Linked DNA regions of Homo sapiens: region 2 is linked to region 1. The links are contacts of gene promoters, found by promoter capture Hi-C in human tissues and cell types (Jung and others, 2019). All regions are on one chromosome and are shown on one strand. Each heading gives the region's core, a stretch centred on a gene start or on the middle of the fragment in contact. The rest is flanking DNA. Distances are from core to core; before and after follow the strand shown.

Region 1 (4,488 bases), core at 1,128-3,627:
CAAGACTCAATCACACAAAAAAAAAGAAAGAAAAGAAAATTACTTTTAGCTCATAATAAGTATATATATATATATATATGTATATGTATATATATTTTTTTAAGAGATGGAGTCTCGCTCTGTGACCCAGGCTGGAGTGCAGTGGCGCAATCTTGGCTCACTGCAACCTCCGCCTCCCGGGTTCACGCCATTCTCCTGCCTCAGCATCCCGAGTAGCTGGGACTACAGGCGCCCACCACCACACCCAGCTAATTTTTGTATTTTTAGTAGAGACGGGGTTTCACCGTGTTAGCCAGGATGGTCTCAATCTCCTGACCTCGTGATCCACCCACCTTGGCCTCCCAAAGTGCTGGGATTACAGGCATGAGCCACCGCGCCTGGCCATAATTAGTATTTTATGCACCATTTTAATCTCAACTCTTTCTATCTTTGCTCTATATTCATTTTTTTTTTTTCTTTTTGAGACAGAGTCTCTCTCTGTCACCAGGCTGGAGTGCAGTGGTGCGATCTCCACTCACTGCAACTTCCGCCTCCCGGGTTCAAGAGATTCTCCTGCCTCAGCCTCCCGAGTAGCTGGGACTACAGGCGCCCGACACCACACCCAGCTAATTTTTTTGTATTTTTAGTAGAGACAGGGTTTCACCATGTTGGTCAGGGTGGTCTCCATCTCTTGACCTCATGATCTGCCTGCCTCGGCCTCCCAAAGTGCTGGGATTACAGACGTGAGCCACCACGCCCAGCCTCTTTTCTCTATATTCTAACCACAAAAATAAGATTTAGTTTTCCCATCCATTTTCAAATAAATCAAAGTGTCCTCCTGAAACTCAGGCAATAAAAATCTGATATTTCTTCGTTCTTGGTGGGCAAAGGACAAGTTTAACATTTTCCAGACTTCGAAGAGCCAGATATATTCAGTATTATTATTATTACTACTAATAACTCTTGAATGTTAACATATGAATTAAGTTATTTCACAGAATACTTAAGATAAAATCTCTTTGGAGAATTTCCGATAGAGATTAAACTTATTAATATTCACATGTTATTTATAATAATCTATTGTCATTTTAATTGCTTTATGAAAGTAGTCATTTGCATTACAAAGATATTTTGTAGTTAAATGAAAGATAAATGCATCTCAAACCATATATAGAGCGAAAAGTCTTTATCAAGCAACCTATTTAACAAAAAGAGTGAAACAAACACATTCCATCCCTCTATTTTATCATCTTGTTCAGATACTTGAAAATCTGTAAATGTCTTTAGAGAGAGTTGCTGTTTGATAGACTGCAATACATAGATATTACACACAAGCACACTAAAGATCAAGTCCTGCATTAATCAATGATTTTATAACAAACAATAAAAATTCCTCTGTGACCTCATACCAAAAAAAAAACCCAATCCCAAACCAATGAACCATATAAATCAACAAATAAATCTAAATGATATCCTGGAGCAAAAACAGGCATAAATGTTTCTTGGAGTTTTTTATAATGAAATTATACCCATATTACATGGTGAATGAGGTGGTCCCTTGACCTAAAAGTCCCAGCCATGTGAGCACAGGGGTCAGACAAAAAAGATCAAGAGAAACAATGTATTCAGTCAGGGGGATTTGGCAACATCCATTCTATCTATCTCAGTCATTCAGAAAATAATTACGGTATTTATCACTTTTAGCATGCTAGACGGGATGATTATTAAGAGAGAAAAACAGAAATTAGACAATGCAACATAATGTACGTGCTCAGAAAAGTATAAGCATTGTCCTCAGGGATCCGGAAAGCCTTCTTGAAGGTGAAGACACTCAAACTGAATCCTGAAGGAAAAGTGGGCACTACCTATGTGAAGGGAGCAGAAAAGATAGTGTGTGCGTAAGTCCCAAGTTAGAGCACACTACTGTGAGAAGCTTGAAGAGTGTCATGCCTCCCAACAATAAGAAGGAATTACAAGTGGTACAATAGCGATATAAATAAGGGCCAGATGAGGAATATTTTTGCATGATATGTTAAGGAGATGAGATTTTAGCTGAGGAAAAAGGGGACAATGATAGTAGGTGAAGAAAAAGTAGATGTGGTCATTATAGGGTGTTTGTTCCACACTGCTCTGCATCAACTTTAGCCCCTCCTTGGCGAACTCACTTTTTGGTTGGAATTTTCGGTACTTCTCTATCACTCTCATGTGTCCCTCTTCCTTCATCTGGCAAATCCTGGCTTTCAGTATCTCTCAATGGACAAGAGTTTCCTCCCATCTAGGAAACTAACCAGCCTCTGGAGGACTTCTCCTTTTAAGTAAACCTAAATAACTAATGGTGACACCACCTCCTCTTTTAAAAAACAATTTGACTCTATCTTGTTTATCTCATAATTCCTAGGCATCAATCATCCGACAAAAGCATTCACTTACAACATCATTGTGCTGTGTTTCTCTTGTCAAACGTCACCATTCATCTTAGCAGACTACAAAAAGACATGGGAAAGACCAAAAACACATCGCTGGATGCCGTGGTGACAGATTTCATTCTTCTGGGTTTGTCTCACCCCCCAAATCTAAGAAGCCTCCTCTTCCTGGTCTTCTTCATCATTTACATCCTCACTCAGCTGGGGAACCTGCTCATTCTGCTCACCATGTGGGCTGACCCGAAGCTCTGTGCTCGCCCCATGTACATTCTTCTGGGAGTGCTCTCATTCCTGGACATGTGGCTCTCCTCAGTCACCGTTCCTCTGCTTATTTTGGATTTTACTCCTTCCATCAAGGCTATCCCGTTTGGTGGCTGTGTGGCTCAACTGTATTTCTTTCACTTCCTGGGCAGCACCCAGTGCTTCCTCTACACCTTGATGGCCTATGACAGGTACCTGGCAATATGTCAGCCCCTGCGCTACCCAGTGCTCATGAATGGGAGGTTATGCACAGTCCTTGTGGCTGGAGCTTGGGTCGCCGGCTCCATGCATGGGTCTATCCAGGCCACCTTGACCTTCCGCCTGCCCTACTGTGGGCCCAATCAGGTGGATTACTTTATCTGTGACATCCCCGCAGTATTGAGACTGGCCTGTGCTGACACAACTGTCAATGAGCTTGTGACCTTTGTGGACGTCGGGGTAGTGGCCGCCAGTTGCTTCATGTTAATTCTGCTCTCGTATGCCAACATAGTAAATGCCATCCTGAAGATACGCACCACTGATGGGAGGCGCCGGGCCTTCTCCACCTGTGGCTCCCACCTAATCGTGGTCACAGTCTACTATGTCCCCTGTATTTTCATCTACCTTAGGGCTGGCTCCAAAGACCCCCTGGATGGGGCAGCGGCTGTGTTTTACACTGTTGTCACTCCATTACTGAACCCCCTCATCTATACACTGAGGAACCAGGAAGTGAAGTCTGCCCTGAAGAGGATAACAGCAGGTTGAAGGACTGAATGAAAATAAGTAACTACATCTGCATCATTATCACTGCCACTCTCTTCAGCTACTGCTGCATGTGACAAATGCCCAATAAACTGCTAAGGATTTAAAGTGAATTTATTTTCATTTTCTTTGGCAGAAAATTCTGAATTATTTCGACCCAAAATCTTTTCCCCTAATTAAACTGGTTCAGGTTGTTTTACATAATCTTTTAGAAATAAATGGATACATTATTTCTATCACCTCTATCTTGTGAGATGAGAAAATGCCTTACCAAAGGTTGAATAAGATGAGAATGTGTCAATGTCTTAGAAAGTATATCATGCCAGAAAATTTGAAAAGAGTAAAAAGGGGGCTCCATAACCCCTTGTTTCATTGTCTTTGCTCCTAATCCTAGACCCCTCTAAATTCCATTTCTTTGCTTGTGCATGGCATGAATATTTCCAAGCACTTGAACTTGAAAATTCTGGATTATTTGTGTTTTCTTCCTGTCCCTCGCCCTCGTGATGTGCTAACACATCAGATTCTGTCTCCTCAAAACTATGAAACCAGCTCAAACTGATTCAGTGTAGACTGTCTCTCTTAATTCTTGACTAGTTCTTCCTCATCTAGACCACAATCAAAATTACCCTCTGAAACACAGAATCTGTAGGACTCTTCGGCGAAGGTAGAATGAATAAGGCCAGGCTCCTTAATCTGGAATTCAAAATCCAATGCAATCTTGGCTTCACATACATGTTCTCTTAAGCCATTTCCTCTGCTTCCCTCTCCCACCCTCACTGATTTATTGCCGTTCCGTGAGCATGCTCTATACTTGCCTGTACTCTTTTGCTCAAGCTCTCTTCTCTGCCTGGAATATAAGTCCTCCCTCTCCATATTGACCAAGTGACAATTTATGCTTCCTTCAGATCCATATTAAATACTTCCTCATCTGTTTTTCCCAGGCAGGACTTAACTCCTCTTCCCTGGTATTGCCATGGCTTCTTTAGTATAGACCTTGCCCCAGTCTGTCACGTATTACAGTCAAGAATTTATCTCCTACCGGGCGCAGTGGCTCACGCCTGTAATCCCAGCACTTTGAGAGGCC
Region 2 (4,488 bases), core at 1,292-3,791, 150 kb before region 1:
TGTGGGGGAAATCCTGTTCTTCTCTATGAGTTTATGTAGAGAATATATCTTAGGAATTATACCAGTAGGTTTGAGTGAAATATGTCAGAACCATATGATCAAGGACACAAATTGCTTATTTTCCCAAGTAACAGTGGGCTTTATTAGGAACATCTGATTTCTAGCACCCAACAATTGTAATCCAAGGATTTAGATTAAATAGGGTAAAGTCAGGGAAACTGAATTCTCTCTTGGCATTTAACATACAGCATCAGAAGCTTCTCAACCATTGGAAGGGCAGGGAAACACAGATCAAAACAGGTGCTCATGGGAAATCTACCTACCACAAGAAACCTGCCACCAGTGACCCCAGTTTTCTGCAGCATCAAAGAGATGGAGTCTCTGAAGGATCCCAGGAATCAAAAAGAAAAGCCACTGTCAGTGACTTTGCTGTCTATCCAAAACAGTTATTGAATGAGTGTGTGCCTCTCATTGCTAATTTTTTACTTATTCATTGCTAATGTAAGGATACAATTTATTGATTGTTTTAAATCCTTGCAAAATAAGGTTTTTTAGTTAAATAATTTTTATTGAGGTAGAGTTTACACACAGGGAAATGCACTGATCTCAAATGTACACTGAAGTTTTGACAAATGTATATACTCTTGAAATCAACACCCCAATAGAGTAATAGAACACTTTCATTACCCCCCAGAAAATGCTACACCACCTTCTACTGGATCTCCACCCTGCACAGACAAGCACTTTTTAAAATTTCTATTCACATATATTAGTTTTACATGTTCTTGAACTTTATATTTAAAGAACCATACACTTTTTATTGTTCCATGTTTGTCTTATTTCAATCAACTAAAATTTTTAAATTCGTTTACAATGTGGTATATGTCAGTAGTCTATTTTTTACTGCTGAGTATGAATAAATTACAATTTGGTGCTCCATTTTCTTATTGATGAACATTCGAGTTGTTTCCAACTTGGAACTATTATGAATAAAGCTTCTATAAATATTCCTGTACAGGAAAGTGGATTTTTTTTTTTTTTACATTTCCCTTGGGTAAATGCCTCAAAAGATACTTGCTGGATCATAGGGTGAGTATTTTCCAATGTGGCTGTATCCATTTAAACCTATATGAGTAAGGCATGTTCTAGGGACTCTACATTCTCACCAAAATTTGGTGTTGTCAGTCTTTTTAATTTTAGCCATGAGTATGAAGTGATATCTCATTTAATTTACTTTTTTTTTTTTTTTGAGATGGAGTCTCACTCTATCACCAGGCTGGAGTGCAGTGGCGCAATCTCGGCTCACTGCAACCTCCGCCTCCCAGGTTCAAGTGATTCTCCTGCCTTAGCCTCCTGAGTAGCTGGGACTACAGGTGTGCGCCACCACACCTAACTGATTGTTGTATTTTCAGTAGAGACAGGGTTTCACCATGTTGGCCAGGATGGTCTCAATCTCTTGACCACATGATCTGCCCGCCTTGGCCTCCCAAAGTGCTGGGATTACAGGCATGAGCCACCGTGCGTGGCCACATTTCTTTTATGACTTAAGACATAGAACAAACTTCCATTTGTTTATTGACTGTTCCTTTGTCTTCCTTGTAAAATGCGTATTCAAGTCTTTTGCATGTTTTTTATCGTTACTATAAAGTTGTAGTCGTTCTTTCTATATTCTGGATATATTGCAACTCTCCTGGAGATCACAAAAGAATTAAAAACCTACCACACTTTTGGATAGGAAGACTTGCCATAATACTGCCGTCATTTTATCTAAGTTAATTCATATATTTTACCCTAAGTTAATGTATACTTTTAACAAGATCCCAGAATCATATTCATTTCAATTTATGGCAATGGCTATTCCTCCTGGATATTCAGGGCCTGTAGACTTCCCCAGCTCTGGGCTGTTTGCACCTGTTCAGGACAGCAAGGCCACTGGAAACCTAGGGTTTGATGTTGTCAGTCTTTTTAATTTTAGACATAGGTATAAAGTAATATTTCATCGTGGTTTTAATTTACATTTCTTTTATGACTTAAGACATAGAACAAATTTCCATGTGTTTATTGGCTATTCCTTTATCTTCCTTGTAAAATGCCTGTTCAAGTCTTTTACATATTTTTAATTGGCACTATAAAGTTGGAGCCATTCGTTATGTATTCTGGATATAAAGAACTCCTACAGCATTGGCTCAGTGGACTGAGCTTCTCCTTTCTCCTTTCTGATGGTTTCACAAATTCCACTTAGCCTGTCCTGAGCTGGGTCCCCAAAAGAGCATCTAGAATCTACAGTAACAGAAAGCTACTCTACAAATTATTTAAAATAATGTCCAATGTTTAGTGCTATTCATCAATAGCATCGTATTTGATATTTTATTTGAACTCCACAATTCCATTAAATAAAGGGTCAGGCTTTATAGATTTGTTTTATTTATGACAGCCTGTAGCACTTCACTTTCCAGACTTGTTTGGAAATGGCCAGATGATACCGAAAACCACCTGGCATTTCTCCTCAACTCTGGCAGACAATACCTCAACATGTGAAGCCAATTCTTGACCCACAGATTCAAGCAGCATTCAGCTGTCCCCAATCTTTAACCATGTTTCCATGAGAAAAATGATTGATGAAGATGAAACTAAACTCTTGCTGCAATTTCTCGGGAACCTCTAAATCCTAGGCAGACTTGGTTTCCCCTTTGTGTATCCCAGAAACTTAGGAAACATGAGCTCTATGATGGCTTATCTGCTATGTTCAATACCAATGCATCCCAATGACTAAAGAGTACCTGGCACATATCAGGAGCTGAGAGATACTTGTTCAGTGGGTGAGTAAATGAAAACCACTGCTACAGCATTTTTCACATATGATTCCAACCATTGTAGTTCCTTTGTCAGATTTTACAGTAGAAAAACAACAGTCTTCAAATTTCTTTGACATGTGTTTCCACCAGGCCTGAGAAGAGAACAAGTGCTCTCTATGCTAGAAGACTGACCTGGGCACTAAAGGATTCTGCTGAAGATAGGAAGGGTCAGGATTGATCAATTCAAATAAGGCACAAAGACGGTCTTTGTGAAGGGTGGCCTGATAAAAGATACATGAGTCAAATGAACAGCACCCTTTATCTCCTCCCCTCTCTGGTCATACTCATGCCTTAGTTCTTCACGTCTACTCAGGCTCAGGGCCCCTATTGCTGATGCTTCTGTTATGGTACTTCTACCCAGCTGCATGTTTGGATACAGGTTGCAGGTGCCTAGGGAGTACTGTGCATCTACAGCACAGAAATAGGTGGCTGAATCTTCAGGCTGCACGGCTGTAATGTACAAGCTGCTTCCATTCTTCAGTAATGTAGCATTTAGTCTTCCTTTCTGCTTCTCATATCCAGCTGAATACATGGATAATAGGTGTTTGGGACCCATCCCTGTATTTTGCCTGTACCACTGCAAATTGTTAAAACGACTGACAGAGTACGTGCAGCTCATGGAGGCAACGTCTCCCTGCTGGGGTCCCAGAAAATGAGGGCTGTGCTCCACCTGGTTTTCTCCATTTGCCCCTATTCAGAAAGACATCAGGTACAATATGTACATTTTAATTTAGACCTTTCATAATTTTATTTCTTAATCTCAAACAAGCAATGACAAGTAAGTCCAGACTACATCCCCATCTCCCCAAAAGGACTTGAATAAATGTCTCCTGGGGTCCCCAGTTCTTAGAACCCTCAACTTACAGCCAAGACATAGACAAAATATAATTAGGACAGGTCTCCGCATCTTCTCCATCCTGATACTTTGTCTTGATACCAAAAATGCTGCATAAAATTATGTAGCCAAACAAAGCTTTTATTGTTTGTTTCTTTTAATCTAATAAATGAAACAGCCTGTCTGTCTGTCAACCAATCAGCAATATGCTCTTCTAACGTAAACATACTTCCTAGGTATAAGAAAGACATAGTTTACAAATGAAAGAGAACCCCTGTCACCTTGTGGCTATAAGCAAAATTATTAAAGAAATGTTAACGCTGTGCACATCTGCTAACACCACGTGCAAAAATTCCTCCAACTTCTAAATTGGAGGAATTGTTCTTATTTTATAAGCCTCTATAATGTGATCATCATGACTTTCTCCTGTGTTTTTCTTTTACTAATCTGTTCATTGAGGCCTGATCTATCTCAGAGCAAAACTATCACCAGTGATTATGGAGCAGATGGGCAAAACAGAAGAACTGGATATATGTTCTCTTCAAAATGCAACAATCTCAACTGATAAAGCCAAGGAAAGCTAACATAGGTACACGGAGGTTCCAAATAACACACAGTGGCCAGACGTGGTGGCTCACGCCTGTAATCCCAGCACTTTGGGAGGCCGAGGCAGGTGGATCATGAGGTCAGAAGTTCAAGACAAGCCAGGCCAACATAGCGAAACCCCGTCTCTACTAAAAATACAACACTTAGCTGGGTATGGCAGCATGCACCTGTAGTCCCAGCTACTCAGGAGGC

The links. The method cuts DNA at HindIII sites, captures the fragments that hold promoters and counts their contacts. A contact is called where the count stands out against the background at its distance.
Region 2: a fragment that was not itself captured here is called in contact with the fragment with the promoter of OR10G2 in region 1 in 2 of the 25 tissues and cell types used here (aorta and hippocampus).

Annotation. Positions count from the first base shown.
Region 1 is chr14:21,632,829-21,637,316 of GRCh38, reverse strand. It overlaps OR10G2 (olfactory receptor family 10 subfamily G member 2), which reads left to right and starts at 2,377. Exons shown (of 1, transcript NM_001005466.2): 1 at 2,377-3,481. The coding sequence starts at 2,475. The coding sequence ends at 3,407. It also overlaps TRA. The HindIII fragment of the contact is 10,781 bases long and covers 1-4,488 here.
Region 2 is chr14:21,782,276-21,786,763 of GRCh38, reverse strand. It overlaps TRA and TRAV7. Among named protein-coding and RNA genes, the nearest start is that of OR4E1, 110 kb to the right of the region's middle. The HindIII fragment of the contact is 3,829 bases long and covers 627-4,455 here.